3 separate regions of the Homo sapiens genome follow, and regions 1 and 3 are each linked to region 2. The links are contacts of gene promoters, found by promoter capture Hi-C in blood cells and fetal thymus (Javierre and others, 2016). All regions are on one chromosome and are shown on one strand. Each heading gives the region's core, a stretch centred on a gene start or on the middle of the fragment in contact. The rest is flanking DNA. Distances are from core to core; before and after follow the strand shown. Region 1 overlaps ALG10 (ALG10 alpha-1,2-glucosyltransferase). Region 2 holds the start of CAPRIN2 (caprin family member 2). Region 3 overlaps MRPS35-DT (MRPS35 divergent transcript).

What was found. Contacts are between HindIII fragments. The CHiCAGO score rates a contact against its expected background, and 5 or more counts as called.
Region 1: a contact is called between a fragment that was not itself captured here and the fragment with the promoter of CAPRIN2 in region 2, in 4 of 17 cell types (total B cells, non-activated CD4 T cells, activated CD4 T cells and 1 more). The highest score is 7.5, in total B cells.
Region 3: a fragment that was not itself captured here is called in contact with the fragment with the promoter of CAPRIN2 in region 2 in 1 of 17 cell types (total B cells); the score reaches 5.2 in total B cells.

Annotation. Positions count from the first base shown.
Region 1 is chr12:34,026,912-34,029,800 of GRCh38, reverse strand. ALG10 (ALG10 alpha-1,2-glucosyltransferase) reads right to left here. Exons shown (of 3, transcript NM_032834.4): 3 at 1,499-2,889. The coding sequence ends at 2,886. Among named protein-coding and RNA genes, the nearest start is that of ALG10, 5.9 kb to the right of the region's middle. The HindIII fragment of the contact is 2,454 bases long and covers 158-2,611 here.
Region 2 is chr12:30,753,427-30,756,453 of GRCh38, reverse strand. It overlaps CAPRIN2 (caprin family member 2), which reads left to right and starts at 1,503. Exons shown (of 19, transcript NM_001385503.1): 1 at 1,503-1,703; 2 at 2,895-3,027. The coding sequence starts at 2,934. LOC645485 (a long non-coding RNA gene) reads right to left here and starts at 1,380. Exons shown (of 2, transcript NR_135046.1): 1 at 1,183-1,380. RefSeq lists silencers at 1-178, 1,270-1,949 and enhancers at 1,877-2,046, 2,050-2,129. The HindIII fragment of the contact is 2,894 bases long and covers 1-2,486 here.
Region 3 is chr12:27,701,224-27,704,196 of GRCh38, reverse strand. It overlaps MRPS35-DT (MRPS35 divergent transcript), which reads left to right. Exons shown (of 5, transcript XR_001749448.2): 3 at 577-736. It also overlaps the pseudogene HMGB1P49. Among named protein-coding and RNA genes, the nearest start is that of REP15, 6.3 kb to the right of the region's middle. The HindIII fragment of the contact is 3,947 bases long and covers 1-2,973 here.

The DNA.
Region 1 (2,889 bases), core at 135-2,634, 3.3 Mb before region 2:
CTCCAGCCTGGGGGACAAGAGTGAGACTTCTCCTCAAAAAAAAAAAAAAAAAAAAAAAAAAAAATCTAGAACAGTGATCCCTCCAAAGAGCAGTCTTCTTTAATTACAGGGTAGAATATTTTCCTCAATTTTGCCAGACTAGATCAGAGTGGAAGCTTCTCCTCTCAGAAGTATTCCTAAATACAAAATCCTTGCATTAATATTATCAGACAAAAAGTTATTTTCCCTAAATTATACATTCTTTTTTCAATTTTGACTTCTCGGATTTAGTTCTCTATTATAGTAAATTAATGACAAAAGTATAATTTCTCTGAGTGTCCTCTCTCGTCTAATTTTTAAAAAGTCTGGGTAAAACACGTTTTTCTACAATCACTGTTATAACTAATGCAACTCTATTTTCTGAGTACTAGAGTACAACCAAAAAACGGTCTGTATTTATCATTCAAATTATACTTGTGATTTTCACCTACACACAATTTTATATTTGTAAATGTAGAATCATTACTTAAAACTCAGAGAAACAAAATTTGACATTGAGGGGAAAGTAATTTGTTCACTTATAGCTACTTTTAAAGTTTGGAAACATAAAATTATGTTAAAAGAAGTGTTCTATTCATAATTCTAAGTTTACATGTCAAATTTAACATGCCCAAATAATACTTTCCTATAATGGAATGACAACCCAAAAAATACACTCAAAATAATAAACACAAAATTCAAAAAGTAACACAAAATAATCCTACCCCAGCAGTTGTTCCCTAATCTACAAAATAAGGTCAGACCAAATGATTTCTTAACTTTCAATTCTGACATTTTTTTAAATAGATAATGGAATCAAACACTAGTCACCTTTAGCTTTATATTACCTCAGAAGTCACTTACTTTTTAACCTCTCAGTAAAGATACTGAGAGTTATTTAAAAGGTATCGGCTAAGATATTATCTCCTGATCCAACAATCCCACTTCTGGGCATTTATCCAGAAGACTTGAAATCCGTATGTCAAAGAGAAGTCTGCACTCCACGTTCACTGCAGACAAGTCACAATTATCAAGTTATTCAATCAACCTAAATGTCCATCAATGGATGCATGGATAAAGAAAATGTGGCATATATACACAATAAAATACTATTTGGCCTTTAAAAAGGTAGAAATTGTGTCATTTGCAACAATATGGATGAACCTGGAGGACATTATGGTAAGTGAAATAAGCCAAGCACAGAAAGACAAATACCACATGATCTCACTTATTTGTGTAATCTAAAACAATTAAACTCACAGAAGTAGAGAGAAGAATGATGGTTGCTAGAGGCCGGGGATGTGGGAATGGGGAGATGATAATCAAAAGATACAAAGCCTCAATTAGATAGAAGGAGCATGTTTGACTTTTTTTAGATCTATTACACAACATGGTGAATACAGCTAATAATTAAGCACTGTACATTTCAATACTGCTGAGAGTAAATTTCAAATGTTTTCATCACAAAATATGTCAAATATTTGAGGTGATGGATAGATTAGCTTTATTTAATCCCACATTATATTCAAAAATCATAATGCCACTTTGTTTCTCATAAGTATATACAACTATAATTTGATATATAATAAAAAAAATCTAAAAAGGTAGTCTCCTAACAATCATATGAAGACTATCCTAAAATGTCCTTTAGTAACTGTCATGGACTGAAAAGTATCCCACGAAGAGACAATGTCTACTCAGATCATGTGAATACAAACTTACTTGGAACATGGGTCTTTGTAAACATAATTAAGGGTCTCCAGACACAATCACCCTAGATCAGGGTGGGCCCTACATTCAAAGACACTGTCCTTAAAAGGTAATGAAGAGAAGACAGAGGGAAAGGCCGTGTGAACACAGAGGCAGAGACTGGAGTGAAGATTGCTGTCTGCAATACTTGGACAAGATTTGTCCAGAAGCCAAAGAACTCCAAGAATTGCACACAGCCACAAGATATTAGGAAACAGACATAGAATGTCTGTTTATGGATTCTTCCTTAGAGCCTCCAGAAGGAACCAACTCTGCTGACACTTTGATTTTAGACTTCTGGCCTCCAGACTGTGAGGAAAATTGTTGTAAGCACCCAAGTTTGTCGTCATTTGTTATGGAAGCCCTGGGAAGCTAATACAATATGTATTTCAGAAAGGAAATCCCCCTTTTAAAGGATTATAATCAATACAATTTGTCTTTGGCCATCATACATTTCATATTAGGAATTAGTGAAAGAGCTTCATCATTTCTAGATTGTAAACAATAACCAACAATTTGATGTCTAGACAGGCATATATGAGTCTCTACTTTATCATTTACTATCTATGCATTTGTATTTTGACTTAGAATTAAAATTATATTACTGAAATGTTAAGCAACTTTTCAATCAAGAATATCACCTGACCATTTGTAAATATTTGCTAATACATTGTTATTAGGTTGGTAAAAAAGTAATTGTGGTTTTGCCATTACTTTCAATGGCAAAAACCACAATTACTTTTGCACTAACCTAATATTTCTCTCTGAAGAGAATAAATTCATTCCAGTAATATGAAGCATACCCAGTTTTAATAAACTTGTACATACAAAACATTCCCAAGCTTTTTAAGGGGCCAACATTATGAGAGTGATATGAGATATCTGAAAACAATTTTATTTTTCCATTTTTCAGGCTTTTGAAGCAGGTCTTAAGCTTTCTCAGTTCTTTGCCACTTAATTTCTTACATATGTTTAAAATATATATAAAAAAAACTAATGTAATTTGAAGACCACCACTGCACCTAAAAGAAATTCCATGTTTTCCACCTATTCAGTTGTTCTTTGTAGAAATGGTCTAATTATTAAGTCCATTTTCACAGTTCGAAATATCACTGATATTAC
Region 2 (3,027 bases), core at 254-2,753:
GAGTAGCCATGATTACAGGCACATGCCGCCATGCTCGGCTAATTTTTGTATTTTTAGTAGAGATGGATATTCACCACGCTGGCCAGCCTGGCCTCGAACTCCCGACCTCAGGTGATCCACCCCGCCTCGGCCTCCCAAAGTGCTGGGATCACAGGCTTGAGCCACTGCGCCGGCAGGGGGCAAACATTTCATGATTAATCTGACTGAAATACCATTTTTAGGTTCATCATTAGCTCGGACTACAACTCAGGCTGTGCTGTAACTTTGTGTCAACTCATTGATCCAACAGTGTGTCCTTCACATTTTTTCTTATGGCCACTGTTTTTTGTGTTACCAAAGGTGAAGGCATAGCCTTCCTCTCCTCATGTTCAGCATCTTCTGCGTTTCTCTGTTTATAAACAATGAGAAAAAGGGAAAATCTAGTATTTCTCTGACCCTGAAGAACACATATGGGATTCAGAGATTCAAAGTTAAAATGCAACATTAGGGTACATTATGTCACCAGGGACCGAAAAGAACACGGATAATAGATGCCAAAAAAATGTATTAAGTAATGTTAAAATTAATTTGTGTGAAGTTGACCAAGGCTTTTAAAACTAGACCTTTGTTTCCTTGATTCTTCTTCTGAATTTTCTGTTCTTTTGCTAGTCTCAATATTTTTTATCAGAGCGTCAGGGACAATCAGGACCTAAAAAACTCCACTTGGTGTAATAAGTAAACACATGTTGGGGCAAAGTATTGCTGAGTGTGTGTGTGTGTTTCTTATTTGGTATCAGAAACACCTTCCTTTCCTCAATAAACTTTTACATATTTCCAGACTTTTCTCTTAATTTTATGTAACCTTACAAAGATTTTTTACAGCTTTCTCTGCGTGCCAGTCAATTAATGTGTGTCACATGAACAAATAATACGGCTTGAATAAACTCAATCCTATTATTGCAGGTTGCGAAGTCACCTACTCCGTTTTTATGGCGATGCTGATTTGGGGCATTCTGCTCTTACAGGCTGATTCCCCGGTAAGGAAACGGTGTTTTTTCCCCATCCTACTATGAAAGATGCTATCTGAGGGGCAAAGGCGCATCTGCATTTCACGACTACCCACTAGGCTACGACAGCCTCAAGCATGGCTTATCTGGTAGTTCCGCGAAGGGCTCGCTGCCCTCCTGGAGCTATTGGAGTCACCTGTTCAAGGTCGCGAAACCACCGGTGCCGCCGGCAATCAGCGAGGTCCAGCGGGGCTGCGCGGTTTCCGGCCTGCCGGCGTTCGGCGTCGCCTCGGCCCCACCTGGTGCCCCGCAATCTGCGCAAAGGCTGGGAGACCGCGCCCTCTCCCGACCTACCACCAGCCCAAGCTGGGCCCGGAACTAACACCCGACAAGCGCTGGCGGCCAGCTGCAGCCGGGAAGGAGCACCGGAAGGAGGCGGTGGCGGGGCGGCCGAGGGCGGAGCGGGCCGGGGCGGGGCGCGGCCTACAAAAGCCACGCGCGGCGCGGTGGGCGGGCCTGGGCGCGAGCGGCTGAGTCGGCTGGGTCTCTGGCGCCGCAGAGGCCGCGGGCGAGGACCGGGAGGGGAGAGGGAGGAGACAGGAGGAGGAGACGCGAGTGCGGGGTGGCGCCGGTCCACCTCCGCAGCGCTCCTGCCTCCCCCAGGCTTTGGAAGGCGGGCCCGGGCTGCGGCAGCGGCGGCCTCGGCTGCCTGGGGAGGTGAAGTCGGGCTGCGGCGGCCTCGGTCGGCGCGGCGGAGGGAGGCGGCTGACCCGGCGAGGGTGGGCAGGTCTGGGCGGCCGGCGCCGCTGCGAGGTGGAGGGGCGGCTTGGCATCCCCGGGGCGGGGCGGGGCTCCCGAGGGCCGCGGTCGGTGCGTTTTCCGCAGGTCAGCCTCCCCCGGGGCCTTGCAGAAGCGGCTTCTGCGTACCCGGGGCGGCTGTGGGAAGGGTGGGGGTCGGTGCCTGCAGGGCTCTCCGTGGCCGCTCGGGAGAGGTGCTCTTCGCTCAGGCTCCCCCGGAGACTTGAGGGGGTGCGCGCTGGCGTGCATGGGGCCTGTTCTGTCCTTGGTTTGGGGATGCTCCTAAGGGGGGAGAAAGGGATACCTCGGGTGCTTGGAGGTCGAGAGACGGATACGTAAGTGCGCAAGGGCCACTGATTAGGGCACGGGAAGGGCTCGCTAGAATGAGCTCTTAAACTGGTTGGGTGTAAGCGGTTTTGGGCTAGTCTAAACCAAACAACTGAGAATAAACGCGGGGTTCCTGCAGGTTGAGAGAGTACCTGTCTGCAAATGTCCAGTAGTGATGGATTGCCTTGTAGGCCCCAGAGCAATCGGGGAAGTTAGCATTCTTGTTCAAGAAGCTGCTGGTTCACTTAGAGCTATAAAAGAATGTTGTGAGTTTGGATTTTCTTCCAAACGTTCAGGATTGAGGTTAGGGCTGGTGGTGAGGGATCATGTAAAGAGGTTTGAGTGGCTCAGCCTTAGGTCCCGGTGTGGAAAGCTTATTCTTTTGGTGTCATCACGTGGCCATGGGAATTATTTAGAATGTGATCTGCCCTCATGAGAAGAAAGGAGCTCTGAAGCCGTTGCAGTTCTTCCTCCCTATGTGGAAAATCGAATTTCTGGAAACATCCTCCGTATTGGGAGATTTTGCCTATGTAAAGGCTATCCTTATTGGCTAGCGGCACTAATTACTTTAAAAGTAGGATGGAAGTACAAGTATCTCAAGCATCATTGGGTTTCGAGCTCACTTCTGTGGAAAAGAGTTTAAGGGAGTGGTCTAGACTTTCCAGGGAAGTTATTGCCTGGCTGTGTCCCTCTAGTCCTAATTTTATACTTAACTTTCCCCCACCTCCTTCAGCCTCATCTGTTTCAATGGTGCAACTCTTTTCATCCCCTTTTGGTTACCAGTCACCTTCAGGCCATTCAGAGGAGGAAAGAGAGGGGAATATGAAGTCAGCCAAGCCCCAAGTGAACCACAGTCAGCATGGGGAAAGCCAGCGGGCCTTGAGCCCCCTGCAGTCTACTCTGAGTTCTGCTGCAT
Region 3 (2,973 bases), core at 299-2,798, 3.1 Mb after region 2:
TGGTAAAGTAACATGCTGTACAGGCTTGTAGCCTAGGAGCTATGCCACATAGCCTAGGTGTGTAGTTGGCTGTACTGTCTAGGTCTGTGTAAGTACACTTTCTTATGTTCACAAAACAATGAAATTGCCTAACAATGCATTTCTCAGAACATATCCCCATTAAGCAATGCATGATTGTAGTTGAAGTCATTCCCATTTTACAAATAAGGAAGCAAAAAGTTAAGCCACTTGACTCTGCTCTTATGAGCATTGAAACTCAAATCCGCATCTGATTCCAAGTTGCATGTTCTTTACATCACCTCCTTCTTGAGAGTGTACTCCACACAGCATTCCTGCAGACAGGGGTCGCTATACACCGAGGAAACATTAATTGACTGAGGACTATAACCTCCCAGAAGCATTGAACATGGGAACCGTTATTACTTAACACTTTAAAAGATGCCACCTGGGCTTATTCATGCCCAGTTTACTGAAGGCAAAGGGCTAAAATGCTTTTTTAATTTAAAAAATTGTATTTGCTTAGAAGTATTCAGAATGTCAACAAAACAGCTGCAACTTCTTTTTTTTCAATTACAGAGTGGTACTCAGCAGAACAACAACTATATCGTATAAGCTGCATCAGAGACAAATGAAGATGAAAAAACTATCCTCCTATATAACTAATCTGTGCTGTGCCCCAACAAAGCCTGCTTTAAATTTCCGTGCCAATTACAACCCCCATTCTGTATCAGGCAAGGTTAGTGTCTATTAAAAATATCACCAGGACAGGGCTATCTTAAGAGACATTTTGTAATCTGTTAATTGTACAAAAAGACACTGTAATGTTTTTTGTTTGTTTCTGTTTTTGTTTTGTTTTGTTGTTGTTGTTGTTTTGAGATGGAGTCTCGCTCTGCCGCCCAGGCTGGAGTGCGGTGGCGCAATCTTGGCTCACTGCAAGCTCTGCCTCCCGGGTTCATGCCATTCTCCTGCCTCAGCCTCCCAAGTAGCTGGGACTACAGGCACCCGCCACCATGCCTGGCTAATTTTTTTGTATTTTTAGTAGAGACGGGGTTTCACCGTGTTAGCCAGGATGGTCTCGATCTCTTGACCTCATGATCCACCCACCTTGGCCTCCCAAAGTCCTGGGATTACAGGTGTGAGCCACCGCGCCCAGCTGACACTGTAATGCTTAAAAACAAATCTTACACAGCCTTACATTTCAATTTTTTTTTCTTTAAAAGGAGTGAGTTGTATACAGGGGTTGTTAAATTCTTTATAGACAAGAGAAAGACTGCTACAACCAACTCGTTTATCATCATCTTCTTCTTCTCCTTCCTCCTCATCCTCCTCTTCTTTTTTTCTTTTTTTTTCAGCCTTGGCAATTCCCTTTGTTGCTGCATGAGGCTTTCCTTTAGCTCAGTCTGCTACAATATCCTTTTCATATTTGTCCTTCAGCTTCGCAGCCTTCTTTTCATAAGGCTGCTTGTCATCTGCAACAGTGTCATTCCACCTCTCTCCCAGTTTCTTTGCAAAATCACCAATGTATAGGCCGGGATATTTTCCTTTGACTCAGGGGCAATACTCAGAACACAAGAAAAAAGCCAAAGGAGGCCTCTTGGGCTTTTTTTTTTTTTTTGCCTCTCTTTCTGGAGGGATATAGGTTTTCATTTCTCTTTCATAATGGGTCTTTTGCCTGAGTTTGCCAAGTCTTCAAATTTTCCTTTATAGCAGACCCGGTCCTTTACCTCTCTGGCACTTTTTGGAACAATCTGAGAAGAGGACAGAAGCATCTGGGTGCTGTTTCTTGTGCTCCTTCTGACAAGTATGCATAAAGAATGCGTATAATGACATTTTTGCCTCTTGGGATCTCCTTTGCCCATGTTGAGTTACTTTTTCCTCAGTGAGGCACCCAGTCATGCAGTGCCCACCTGGCAATCACATACCCTGGCACTGTTTCTCTAAAATGCTTTTCTCCATCTTCTGATTTCTTTGGATAAAGGAAAGTCAAAGACAAATTTATTTCTGTCCTTGCATATATTCTTATTATTCAAGACATTTGGAAATACAGCATCTAATTGTTACATGTTTCAAACCCCACATCCAATCATCAGCAAATGCTGTACACTTTACTTTCAACTACATTCTAAATCTGACCTCTTCATACCTCCTCTTGTACGAGTGTGGTCCAGGCCACCTTTTTCTCTCATCTGGGTGACTACAGCTTCCTAGCTGCTTACCTGGGTTCTGCTTCTCTTCTTTTTCTTCTACCATCAAGTCTCCCCCCAGTAATCAAGTGAGGGTTTGTTTGTTTATTTGAGACAGAGTCTTGCTCTGTCACCCAGGCTGGAGTGCAGAGGCACGATCTCGGCTCACTGCAACCTCCGCCTCCTGGGTTCAAGCGATTCTCCTGCCTCAGTCTCCTGAGTAGCTGAAATTACAAGCATGTGCCATCATGCCAGGCTAATTTTTATGTTTTTAGTAGAGACGGGGTTTCACCATGTTGGCCAGGCTGGTCTTGAATTCCTGGCCTCAAGTGATTCACCCACCTTGGCCTCCCAAAGTGCTGGGATTACAGGTGTGAGCCACCATGCCTGGCTTCAAGTGAGGCTTTTAACGTACAGGTCAGTCAAGACATTTCTCTCCCCCATCACTCAGAATAGTTGAGTCCTTACTTCAGCTTACAAGTTTGACCAGCTTGATGAGTTTGCTGGCTACTTCTGCAAACTCATCTCCCACCTCTCGCCTCCAGCTCACTCTGCTCCGTCCACGTCAGCCTCCTTTGCTATCCACATTCACATCTACTCCCATTCCAGGTCCTTTGCATTTGCAGTTCTTTGTGCCTAGAACACCCTTTCCCAAATGTCTGCACTGATGCTCAGTGTCTTCCTTCAGATTTCTAGCTAATTGCCCCCTCCTCGCTGAGGCCTTCCTTCACCACCCAATATAAAATAGCACCTCCTAACATTCTTTATTCCCTGATCATGCTTTTTCTTT